Regions from separate parts of the Homo sapiens genome. Here all the other regions are linked to region 2. The links are contacts of gene promoters, found by promoter capture Hi-C in blood cells and fetal thymus (Javierre and others, 2016). All regions are on one chromosome and are shown on one strand. Each heading gives the region's core, a stretch centred on a gene start or on the middle of the fragment in contact. The rest is flanking DNA. Distances are from core to core; before and after follow the strand shown. Region 1 overlaps ASB7 (ankyrin repeat and SOCS box containing 7). Region 2 holds the start of SNRPA1 (small nuclear ribonucleoprotein polypeptide A'). Region 3 holds the start of SPATA41 (spermatogenesis associated 41).

What was found. The method cuts DNA at HindIII sites, captures the fragments that hold promoters and counts their contacts. A CHiCAGO score of 5 or more calls a contact.
Region 1: a contact is called between a fragment that was not itself captured here and the fragment with the promoter of SNRPA1 in region 2, in 1 of 17 cell types (erythroblasts). The highest score is 6.2, in erythroblasts.
Region 3: the fragment with the promoter of SPATA41 here is called in contact with the fragment with the promoter of SNRPA1 in region 2 in 2 of 17 cell types (activated CD4 T cells and non-activated CD4 T cells); the score reaches 6.6 in activated CD4 T cells.

What each region holds. Positions count from the first base shown.
Region 1 is chr15:100,613,978-100,617,745 of GRCh38, reverse strand. The region is part of intron 4 of ASB7 (ankyrin repeat and SOCS box containing 7); the gene reads right to left. Among named protein-coding and RNA genes, the nearest start is that of ASB7, 13 kb to the right of the region's middle. The HindIII fragment of the contact is 2,908 bases long and covers 1-2,881 here.
Region 2 is chr15:101,293,788-101,297,353 of GRCh38, reverse strand. SNRPA1 (small nuclear ribonucleoprotein polypeptide A') reads left to right here and starts at 2,106. Exons shown (of 9, transcript NM_003090.4): 1 at 2,106-2,257. The coding sequence starts at 2,176. It overlaps SNRPA1-DT (SNRPA1 divergent transcript), which reads right to left and starts at 2,006. Exons shown (of 2, transcript NR_186319.1): 1 at 1,625-2,006. RefSeq lists enhancers at 1,758-1,847, 1,908-1,957, 2,521-3,152 and a silencer at 2,188-2,377. The HindIII fragment of the contact is 2,362 bases long and covers 1,609-3,566 here.
Region 3 is chr15:100,348,548-100,352,300 of GRCh38, reverse strand. It overlaps SPATA41 (spermatogenesis associated 41), which reads left to right and starts at 1,583. Exons shown (of 2, transcript NR_028139.1): 1 at 1,583-3,567. LOC105371021 (a long non-coding RNA gene) reads right to left here and starts at 2,695. Exons shown (of 3, transcript XR_007064777.1): 1 at 2,619-2,695; 2 at 1,356-1,926; 3 at 157-622. RefSeq lists an enhancer at 2,156-2,415. The HindIII fragment of the contact is 2,620 bases long and covers 1,263-3,753 here.

The sequences.
Region 1 (3,768 bases), core at 178-2,677, 680 kb after region 2:
AATAAAGAACTATAAAACAATTCATTACGCTTATGATAGCTGTAATAATAAAAAAGTACAGGGAACAATAATATCATATAACAGAGGGATAACATCACACAGGGAACAACAGTATCACATAGCAGGGATATATACAAGGATCCTAGGTAACCTGGTCTGGATATATACAAGGATCCCGGGTGACCCGGTCTGGCTGGTAAGAGGTTTCCCTGAGAAAACGATCAGTGAGAGCTGAGAGAGAAGCAGGCAGAGCAAGGTGATGGGGCAGGGGTGGGGAGAGAGCAGAAGCGTGACCCAAGAGGGTCCCAGGCCAAAACCTTTGCACTCAGTGACTCTGAAAGAATGCAGAGGGGCTGTGGCTCAAAGCTGCAGCTGGAAAGGTAAGAGGGGCCAGGCACTGCAGCACCATGTGGATCACACTATAAACTTTGAATATCATCCTAAGAGAAATGGGAAACCAATTATGGATTTTTAAAAGGAAATATTTTTATTTCCATTTTAACAGGTCACATTATTTGGAGACTGGTTGGGAGGGGGCAAGACTGGAGGCAGGGATGGAAGAGACCACTGTAGCAGTCCTGGTGAGGAATGTTTCCTGGCCCAAAAATGGGGTGGCATCTCCAGGGAAAGGAAGTGAAAAGCTCTGACAACTTTTTAGGAGGCAGAATCAATAAGACTTAGCAATCAGTCATATTAGAGGTAAGGAAAAGGTACCAAGGATGGTTTCTAGATTTCTGGCATGGCAATCAGAGGCTGTGGTGACACTTACTAGAATGAACACCGTGGTGAGAATGGACACAGCTTGTGCTGTGCTGGCGATGTCTATGAGCCATGAGAGTGCAGACATTAAACACATAGTTGGCTACACTGATCTAGAGGTCATAAGCCAGGACTACACTAAATACAGAGCATGCCTAAGCACCACAGGTGGCCATAAGCAAGTGGGCAGTAGGTGTTTGCTTCTACTAATTTTTCTAAGTTGGTTCATAATACACTGGGTGAAACACTTTCTGAATCTCTTATTCTACTAGGGAAAGGGTATCAGGTAAAAGGTGCTACATAAAAACAAATACAGGGCTTATCCAAAATATTTGTTGTTTTAAATAAAAACTCAGAAATGGAACCACACATATATGAAAACCTTATATCTGACCTAGTGCACAGTAATGAAGAAAGAAGGCATGATTTAGGCTGTCTTTATGGGAAAAAAGTGAAACTGTACCAGGCTACCTCATATACACCAAAGCCAATTCTGAACAGATTAAAAAGCTAAATACCATAAAACATTTTAGAAGAAAACAAAGGCAAATAATGACCCTGCAGTATACTTCCTAAACAAGACACCAAGGGCACAAACGATAAGGCTAAAGAAAACCATAATTCACCTACATTGAAATGTAGACTTCTGCCCGACAACAAAAACAAGAATGTGAAAAAACTACAGAAAGAGAGAAAACATTGCAAAATCTAACAAAGGAGAATATATAAACAATTCCAACAAATCAGTAAGACAAAAAGCCCAGTCTTGCAATGTTTGTTACTCATATGTCATTTTTTCCAAGAAAAAAAAAGAAAAAGAGAGGCAGGTATATCACACCAGGAAAGAGAAAAACCATCTGGTAAGTACATCACTAGCAAAGGCAGGTGAACAGGCACTATCCTGCCCGGTCAGTAAGGACATAAAATGATGACAATCTCTTCGGAGGACAACTTGCCAATATCCATAAAAAATGTTTTGACTTGGCAAATGCACTTCTAGGAGTTAGTCAAGAAATAAACTCTCACATAATGTAACACGATCATTCAAGGACATTCTCTGTAATGTTTCTAGTAGCAGAAAAATGAAAACTTACAATGTCCAACAATAAGAAGTGTAAATAAATTACATCCATACGATGGAATCTGAGACAGAGTCCTATGCAGATAAGGAACTATCACGAAATTAACTGTTATGTGAAAAAATCAAGAGGAGGAACAGAACATTTTAAAAAGGGAGCTGGCTACAAGGTAGAAAACGGAAAAATATTTCTGCCTACATGCATAGACTATCTCTGGATGGTACAAAAGAAACCGGTGAAAGAGATGGCCTCTAGAAGAAGAGTAAAGGACTGGGGCTAAAAGTTAGAGACTTGCCCTCACTGATCAGCTTTAAGTGGCTTTTTAACCATGTATGTATGCACTACCTTTTCAAAAAACAAAATCTCCTGCTGTGAAAATTCCAGCCATTCTCAAAAAATAAAAGAGAATAAACAAATGATAGTATATCCATACCTATCAATACTATATTCAGCAGCTGAAAAGAAGAGTGAATCAATATGTATTAATAGAACCAACAGAAGGTTTCTTTGGGGGTAATGACAATGTTTTAAAATTGACTTTGCTGATGAATATCCAACTCCATGAATATGCCGAAAGCCATTAACTGTACACTTTAAATGAGTGAATTCTGTGGCATGTGAATTACATCTCAATAAAGCTATTAAAATATATATAGATATACAGTCATATATACTACTTAACAACAGGGATACATTCTGAGGACTAGGTTGTTAGGTGATTTCGCTCTTGTGTGAACACCATAAAATGCACTCACACAAACCTAGACGGCACAGCGTACTACACACCCAGGTTATATATAGCTTACTGTTCTTAGGCCACAAGCCTGTACAGCATGTTACTGTACTGAATACTGGAGGCAACTGTAATACAATGGCATTTGTGTACCTAACCATAGAAAAGGTACAGTAAAACATGGTATTATAATTTTATGGGACCACCATTGTAAATGGGGTCCATGATTGAGCAAAATGTCCTTATGCTGCACGTAACTAGATACATACATATATACAGAGAGAAAGATTCAGAAACTATAGCCCAAGCTTGTCCAACCTGCAGCCCACGGTGGGCATGCAGCCCAGGACAGCTTTGAATACAGCCTAACACAAATTCATAAACTTTCTTAAAATATTATAAGACTTTTTTGCTTTTTTTTTTTTTTTTTTTGCTCATCAGCTGTTGTTAAGTGTTAGTGCATTTTATTCATGGCCCAAGACAATTCTTCTTCCAGTGTGGCCCAGGGAAGCCAAAAGACTGGATGCCCCTGCTACAGCCTCTAAGCCCCTCACTGGTTTTTTCTTTTTTTCCCCCCACCATTGGTTTTGATAAAGTTTTACTGGAACACAGCCACACCCATTAGTTTACATACTATCTGTGGCTGCTTCCAGGCTCCGACTGCAGAGCTGGGTAGTTACAAAGCCAGTACGGCACACAAAGCCTCTCATGTTTACTATCTGGCCTTTTACAGAACAAGTTTGCAGACTCCTGCTATTAAAAAGTCTTTAAGTCACACAGTTGTATAAAAAACAACAGTTGTAGAATTATACAGTCAGTATTATCATTGATGTTCAAAACCACACACAACATAATACGACAGAATTTTTCTTTCTTTCTTTCTTTCTTTTTTTTTTTTTTTTGAGCAGAGTTTCACAATTTCGCCCAGGCAGGAGTGCAGTGGCATGATCTCAGCTCACTGCAACCTCCACCCACTGGGTTCAAGTGATTCTCCTGCCTCAGTCTCCCAAGTAGCTGGGATCATAGGCACCTGGCCACTATGCCCAACTAATTTTTTTACTCTTAGTAGAGATGGGGTTTCGCCACGTTGGCCAAGCTGGTCTCAAACTCCTGACCTCAGGCGATCCACTCACCTCGGCCTCCCAAAGTGCTGGGATTACAGGCGTGAGCTACCACGCTTGGTCATATGACTGAATT
Region 2 (3,566 bases), core at 857-3,356:
TGCATAAATACAAAACTAGATAAAGCAAATCTATACAAGATGGCAGGATAATGGTTACCCTTGGGGCAAGGGTGGTGACTAGATGAAGACAGGAGGAGGGCTTCTGGAATGTGGCAATGTCCTGTTCTTACGAGGATGCTAGTTGGTTGGGTGTGTTCAGTTTGCATTCTTCTATATGTATATCATACTTCAATAAAAGTTCAAGGAGAATCATCTCCGGGTGGATTGCAGAACTAAATGTGAAAAGCAAAACAATCGTCTAGTAGACCACATAGGAAAATATGATGGGGGTAAGGGAAGATTTCCTAAGGCACATGCACATGCACACACACCCAATCCACTAACCTAAAGAAAATAATTGAACTACATAAAACTTGGAAACTTCTCAGCCAGGCGAGGCGGCTCACGCCTGTAATCCCAGCACTGTGGGAGTCTGAGGCAGGTGGATCACTTGAGCTCAGGAGTTGGAGACCAGCCTGGGCCACATATCAAAACCTTGTCTCTACAAAAAATACAAAAGTTAGCCAGGCCTGTTGACCTGTGCCTATAGTCCCGGCTATTTGGGAGGCTGAGGTGGGAGGATCTCTTGAGCCTGAGAGGTCAAGGCTGCAGTGAGTCCTGATGGCACCACTGCACTCCGGCCTAGGTGACAGAGTGAGACCCTGTCTAAAAAAAAAAAAAAAAAAAAAAAAAAAAAATCTAATCATCAACACCATTAAGAGTGAAAAGGCAAGCCACAGAGTGTGTTCATATCCCTAATATATAAAGAAATTCCACAAATCAATAAGAAAAAAGGCAGACAACTCCATAAGGAAAAAAAAAAAATGAGCCAGGGACTCGAAAGAACACTTAACCAAGGAAGCTATCAGAATGGGCACCATACACATGAGAAGGTTCTCAGCTTCATTAGTTATTAGAGAAAAGCAAAGCAAAGCAGTAGTGCAATACCACCACACACCCATCAGAATAGCTGAAGTTATAGAGTTAAAATGCCAAGAAGGCTGAAGCTGGAAGCCATGAAAACCCTTACACACCGCTGGAGTGTGTATATTATTTCAGCCTCTTAGCATAACTGTTGGGCATTACTTATTGATGATAGATATACCCTATGTCCCAGCAGTCCCACTCCAGGACAAACTCATGCAAACGTGCATCAGAACCACGTACCAGAAAATTCATAGTAGCATTACTCAGAATAGCCCTAACTGAAAACAACTTTGATGTCTATCAACAGCAGAATAAGTAATTTATGGTATAATATATACAATGGAATTCTCTTCAGCAGCAAAAGCAAACAAACCATCTCTGTATGCAACCTGGATGGACTCCAGACATAATATAGACTCCATGAAACTAGGCCAAAAAAAAAAGCATACTGCATGATTCTATTTATAGCAAAAGCAAGCAAACCGAATTTGTAGTGTTGAGTTCGCGGTTGCCTTTTGGGAAAGAGGGAGGCTTTCAGAATAGCGGTGTTTTGGATCCCGGTGTCGGCTACGCAGCTGTGTTCACTCTGGTCATTAATCACTGTAAATTCCTGATATGCACACTTTTATGTATATCACATTTCATACATATGAATATTCAGAAGTCTAAAGGTCACAAGCTTAACCGCAAACCCTACCGTGCCCGAGGCCGGGCTGGACTTGCGGGGCGGTGGGGTTGTCCCGGCGACCTGCCCCAGGCGGGCCACCTAGCCCGGGATCTCACACTGTAGCCCGGAGCCAAGGCCCAGGCCCGGGGCGGGCACCTGAACTGCTGGACCCTTCACTGAACCCCACGGGTTCCCGCGACGGCTGGTGGAGGGAGGACAGTCACCGCTTCCCCTCCCACCTCGAGGTGCGCTAATGCATGAGAAAGTTCCCCTCGGGTGTTTCCACATTCGCCTTAACTTTTAAACACCAACGTCTGGAATCAGGGGTCCTCCAGACTCCGAAACACACCCTAGGAAACAACCCAGAACGAGACACATCCCCTGTGCGCGCGCCACGACTTCCGGCAAGAACGCCCCCGGAGGCGTGGCTCTTCGATTGCTTCGGCCTGGCGGTCGAGCTGCGCGCGCACTCGGCGGCTGCGATTGGTGCTGCCTGGCGGCGGGGCGCGGGGCACGCTGGGACGTCTCGCTGGCGGGAGGCCACGGGCTTTCCACAGCGCGGGGGAACGGGAGGCTGCAGGATGGTCAAGCTGACGGCGGAGCTGATCGAGCAGGCGGCGCAGTACACCAACGCGGTGCGCGACCGGGAGCTGGACCTCCGGGGTGAGTCCGGGGGCGTGGGCGGCCAGTCCCCAGGCGGCACCGAGCCGCCTTATTTTCCGCGCTTTGCCGCGTGCACCGAAGGCCGGAGCTTGGCCCGCGGGCCGGTTGTCTGGGCTCCGACCGGGCTGCGCAGGGAACGCCGGGCCTGATTCTTGCCGTTGTTGCCAGATGAGCATCCGGTTAAGCTCCTGGGAGCCTTCTGTTAGCGCCGTGCCTCTTGACAGGCACGGGTGACTTCATTACTTCCTGGTGCGTCCTCGTGGGGCCCTGTTAGGCCTTGCTTGGCTGTTTCGCCGCTGGCTGTTTGAGGGCCCGGAAGAGCGGCTCATTAATGGTTGTAACGCAAGTGCAGGGCGCGGGATTGGTTCTTAATACTTGCCGCCAGATGATATTTTGAGCGTAGATAGGATATGTGTTCATTATTCCTAATGTGAGGGAGGAAACTAAGTCCCCGAACAACCGCGATTGTTTCCTCCAGTATTTTCTACTTAGTAGCTTTAATTGTCTGGCGTTTCCCCTATATGAAGACGTTTTAAAAATTGAACTGTGTCACCCAGGCTTGCACCGCCGGGTGCTGTGTGTAAGTTGTGGAAGCGCTCGCAATTATTCAGATTCCTGTACTATTTCAACCTTAGCAAGACTTGGTAAGATACTGGGAGGGCAGCTAGCTAGTTGGCATTTCAGGAGACGGCTTTAAAAGGGACGTGATAGAGCAACTTCTCTGAGGATAAGACCATGCTGTCGTAGCCTGAGATTTGTTCCCATGGGGACCTATGGCCTCGGAGCAGCATCGCTGCGGGATCTGCTTAGATTTCTTGCCGACCTTTGGGAAATCCCACTGTTTTGTGTTGTGTTGTGTTGAGATGGAGTCTCGCTCTTTCCGCCCCAGCTGGAGCGCAGTGGCGTGATCTCGGCTCACTGCAACCGCCGCCTCCCCGGTTCAGGTGATTCCTGTGTCTCAAGCCTCCCGAGTAGCTGGGAATACAGGCATGCGCCACCACGCCCGGCTAATTTTTTGTATTTTTAGTAAAGACATGGTTTCTCCATGTTGGTCAGGCTGGTCTCGAACTCCCGACCTCAGGTGATCCGCCCGCCTTGGTCTCCCGAAGTGCTGGGATTACAGGCTTGAGCCACTGCGCCCGGCCCAACTCACCACTTTTGATGATCTCTGCCATTTCTCTTTATGGAGCATGTGCAGTGTTGAGAATACGTATTTTGATGCAGTACGTGTAGTACAGCTCTGAATTGTGTCCTTTAACTTTGGGTAAGTTCTTTTTTTAGTAGACCTTGCTTCTTCGGAATATTTCTT
Region 3 (3,753 bases), core at 334-2,833, 940 kb after region 2:
CTTTTGGGTGCCCTAAATTTTTTATAGCCACTTCTTGCACACCTCCATTAGATGAATGCTTTCATATAAATCTTTAACATGCCTTAGAATTAATTTTAGTTTGTGTTATGACTCTGTAGTTGTTAGCTATTGCTGCATAACAAATTAGTCCAAAACTTAGTGACTCAAAACACTAATAATAATTTATTTTCTCTTGTTTTTTTAACGGTCTGGAATTCAGCCAGGGTGGACACAGTGGGAAGGGCTTGTCTCTACTCATGGTGTTTGGGGCAGACTCAAAGGCTGGGGGCTGAAATCATCGGAAGGCCTGACTGAGGGTAGAGGATCTGCTTCCAAAATGACTCACTCACATGACAAATTAGTTGGTTCTGGCAAGTTGGCCTCCTTTCCAAGAAGTGCCTCTCCACACATGTGCTTCTCTGCAGGGTTGCTTGAGTGTCCTCATGACATGGCTGGTGGTTCCCAAAAAAGCAAGTGATCCAAGAGCAACATTCAGGAATAAGTTCAATCCTTTCTATGACCTAGCCTCAGAACTCACAAAGCATCACTCTCAATACGCCCTATTCATCAGAAGCCAGGCAGTAATTCCAGCACACTTTCTAGGCAGAGGAATTAGGTACACCTGTTGAAGGGAAGCAGGTCATAATTAGAGGATATATTTTTGAACCACCACAGAATCTAACTTAGGTTCGTACAAATATATAAACAGCTGTCCAATACCACATATTGAATAGTCTATCATTACTATATCAGTCTGAGCCATGACTATTTGCATTTACTAAGAATGTGTGTTATTACCATTGAAGACCTTCCAGTGGGACAAGATGTGAAAGCAGAAGACAGTGGTATTGATGATCCTGACCCTGTATAGGCCTAGGCTAATGTGTGTTTGTGTCTTAATATTTGACAAAAAGTTTAAAATGTAAAAAATAAACAACTTCAAAAGTAGGAAAAAAGCTTATAGAATAAGGATATGAAGAATGAAAATATTTTTGTATAGCTGTACAATGTGTTTGTGTATTCAAGCTGTTATTAAAAGAGTCAAAAAATTTAAAAATTCTTAAGGTAGAAAAGTTACAGTAAGCTAAAGTGAATATATTATTGAAGGAAAGAAAATTTTTAAAAATAAATTGAGTGTGGGCCTAGTGTACAGGGTTTTAAAGTCTACAGTAGTGTACAGTAATGTCCTAGGCCTTCGTATTTACTCACCACTCACTTACTGACTCACCCAGAGCAACTTTCAGTCCCGTAAGCTCCAAGCTTACGGTAGGTGCCCTAGGCAGGTGCACCAGTTTCAATCTTTCATACCATATTTTTACTGTATCTTTTCTATGTTTAGATACACAAATACTTACCATTGTGTTACAGTTGCCTACAGTGTTCAGTACCACACTGTACAGGTTTGTAGTCTAGAAGCACAGCCTACAGCCTGGGTGTGTAGTAGGCTGTGCTGTTTAGGTTTGGGTAAGTACACTCTATATTGTTTGCACAATGATGCAATTGCCTGACGATGCATTTCTCAGAACGTCTGCTCACTGTTACGCAACGGAGGACTGTGAATTGGGAGTTTATTTTGTTTTTCAGTCTGTACTGGCAGCGAATCATACATAGCTTAGTTTATCAGACAAGCTGCTTTTCTTGAGCAAAGAAAGAACTAGGAGAGAAACGGGGCTTTGGAACCCTGATGCGGCAATGCTGAAAGAGGAGAAATATCCCAAGGAAGGGAAAGGTGTGTTGCAGAACGATGAAAAATAGGCGGCTTCTCACAGCTGTTCTCAGGGGACGAGACGGGGTGGGATGCAGCTCCGCCGGTGCCTAACACTAAGGGCCCTCATCCTGCCGATTCAGTTGTGTCGGGACCGCCAGTGCTGTCTCCTCGTCAGATGCTGCTTCTGGTCTCCCCGCAGAAGATGCCACTGGAGTTGCCTTTTCAAGGATGGGGACATTTGAAGGCCCTGGACGCTCAGCTCTGAGGCTGGCTGGGATCTCACTAGCACCCCCTGGTGGAGGCCGGAGCCAGGCTGACGCGGGAAAGTGGGGCACGGAAGCGCTGCGGATTGGACCGGCGGCAGCTAGGCCGAAACGCCTGTATTTAAAGGGATAGTAACTCGGACTCGTTCTGCAATATCCCCACAAGGGCCTGACTGAGCGAGCGAGCATGGACGGCCGCGGGGCTTTCTGGACAGTGGCCATTCCCAGAGCCAGGCAGGAAGGCCTCGGGAGGCTGGGGCTCCCGTTCCCGGTGAAGCGGACGCCGCCAGCGCCCCAGAACCCAGGAGGAAGCACACAGGCCCCACAGAGAGTGGTTGGCAAGAGTCACTCGGGGATTAGGATGCCGGCCAAATCGCGGAATTTGAGGCTGGAATCCAAGCTCAACAGGAAAGTAGTGAAATACAAATGGGGAAAACAGGGCTCTGGAGCGGGGAGGGAGCTGGTGCCGGCATTTCCCACCAACGCCGGTTTAGGAAGACGGGACCGATGCCGGCCGCCCCCTGCTGGAGGGGATGTGGCATCTCACGGGCTGCCAGGGAGCGGGGTTGGCTACTCCTGCAACCAGCGTGAAGAGGGTCTCAGGGGAGGCTGTGGTGGGATCCCCCACGTGCCCTTGTTCCTCTCACCGTTACCTCTGGATGCCTCGGGGCAAAGGCCTTCTTCCACCTATAGACAGAGTCTACGCAGGGGTCTTGGAACCCGGGCACACCAGTCCCCAGCTAACGAAATCCCCGAGTTGGGGGATTTGAGAGGGTCACGTTTGGCCCAAGAACCCGCAGTCCTCTTTGGTCTTCGGCCCTCTATTTCTAAGCGTGGGCTTCTGGCACGGCGGCTCTGGGCACAGCCCATGCTGCTTTCGGGCTGGGTGGTTTCAACGACGACAACAATTATCACAGTGACGGTGACCTTCACCCCAACAGGACTGCTGTGTGTGAAGCACTCAAGAGGGCCCCTACAACCAACCTGCCAGGAGTCGGCTCCTGAAAACAGGGTCGGAAAAGGTCAGTGCCCATCAGAATCGAGCTGTCGGCAAAAAGCTGGAGAGGTTAGGAGCTTTGTCTATCTCAAGGGTAACAAACTGCTTTGACCCTGAGGGCTCTGAAGACGACTTTCCCTCACCGCAGCTCTCAAGACAACAGGGATCAGACTCAGAAAGACACTGCCTGTATAAGGCTCTTGTTTGTCTTGTTTTTAATTCCTGCCCTCTGCCTCCAGATCTCAGTCCTCTATCTGTGAAACGGAATTCGGCCTTGCCTGTCCACGAAATGAAGACAAGGCATCTCGTGTGTGTTAAGATGAAACAAGATCTTAGCAAGAGAGTAATGATTTCTTTTTTAAAACATTTTTTACTGTAGTAAAATGTACTATAACGTAAAATTACCATTTCAATCATTTGTAAGTTCAGTGGCATTAAGTACATTCACATTGTCGGGCAGCTGTCAGAGGTGTTCGAACCAGAGCGACTCCATCTTGAACAGGTGCTGCGCAAAATGAGGCTGAGACCTGCTGGGCTGCATTCCCAGGAGGTTAGGCATTCTTCGTCACAGGATGAGTCAGTGGCTGCCAGGGAGGCAGGTTGGTTACCCCAGGAACCAATGAATTGCATCTCAGGGGAGGTTTTGCCAGATACAGGTCACAAAGACCCTGCTGATAAAACAAGATGCGGTAAAGAAGCTGGCCAAAACCTACCAAAACCAGATGGTGACAAAAGCAACCTCTGCTCGTCCTCACTGCTCATTATACACTAATTATAATGTATTA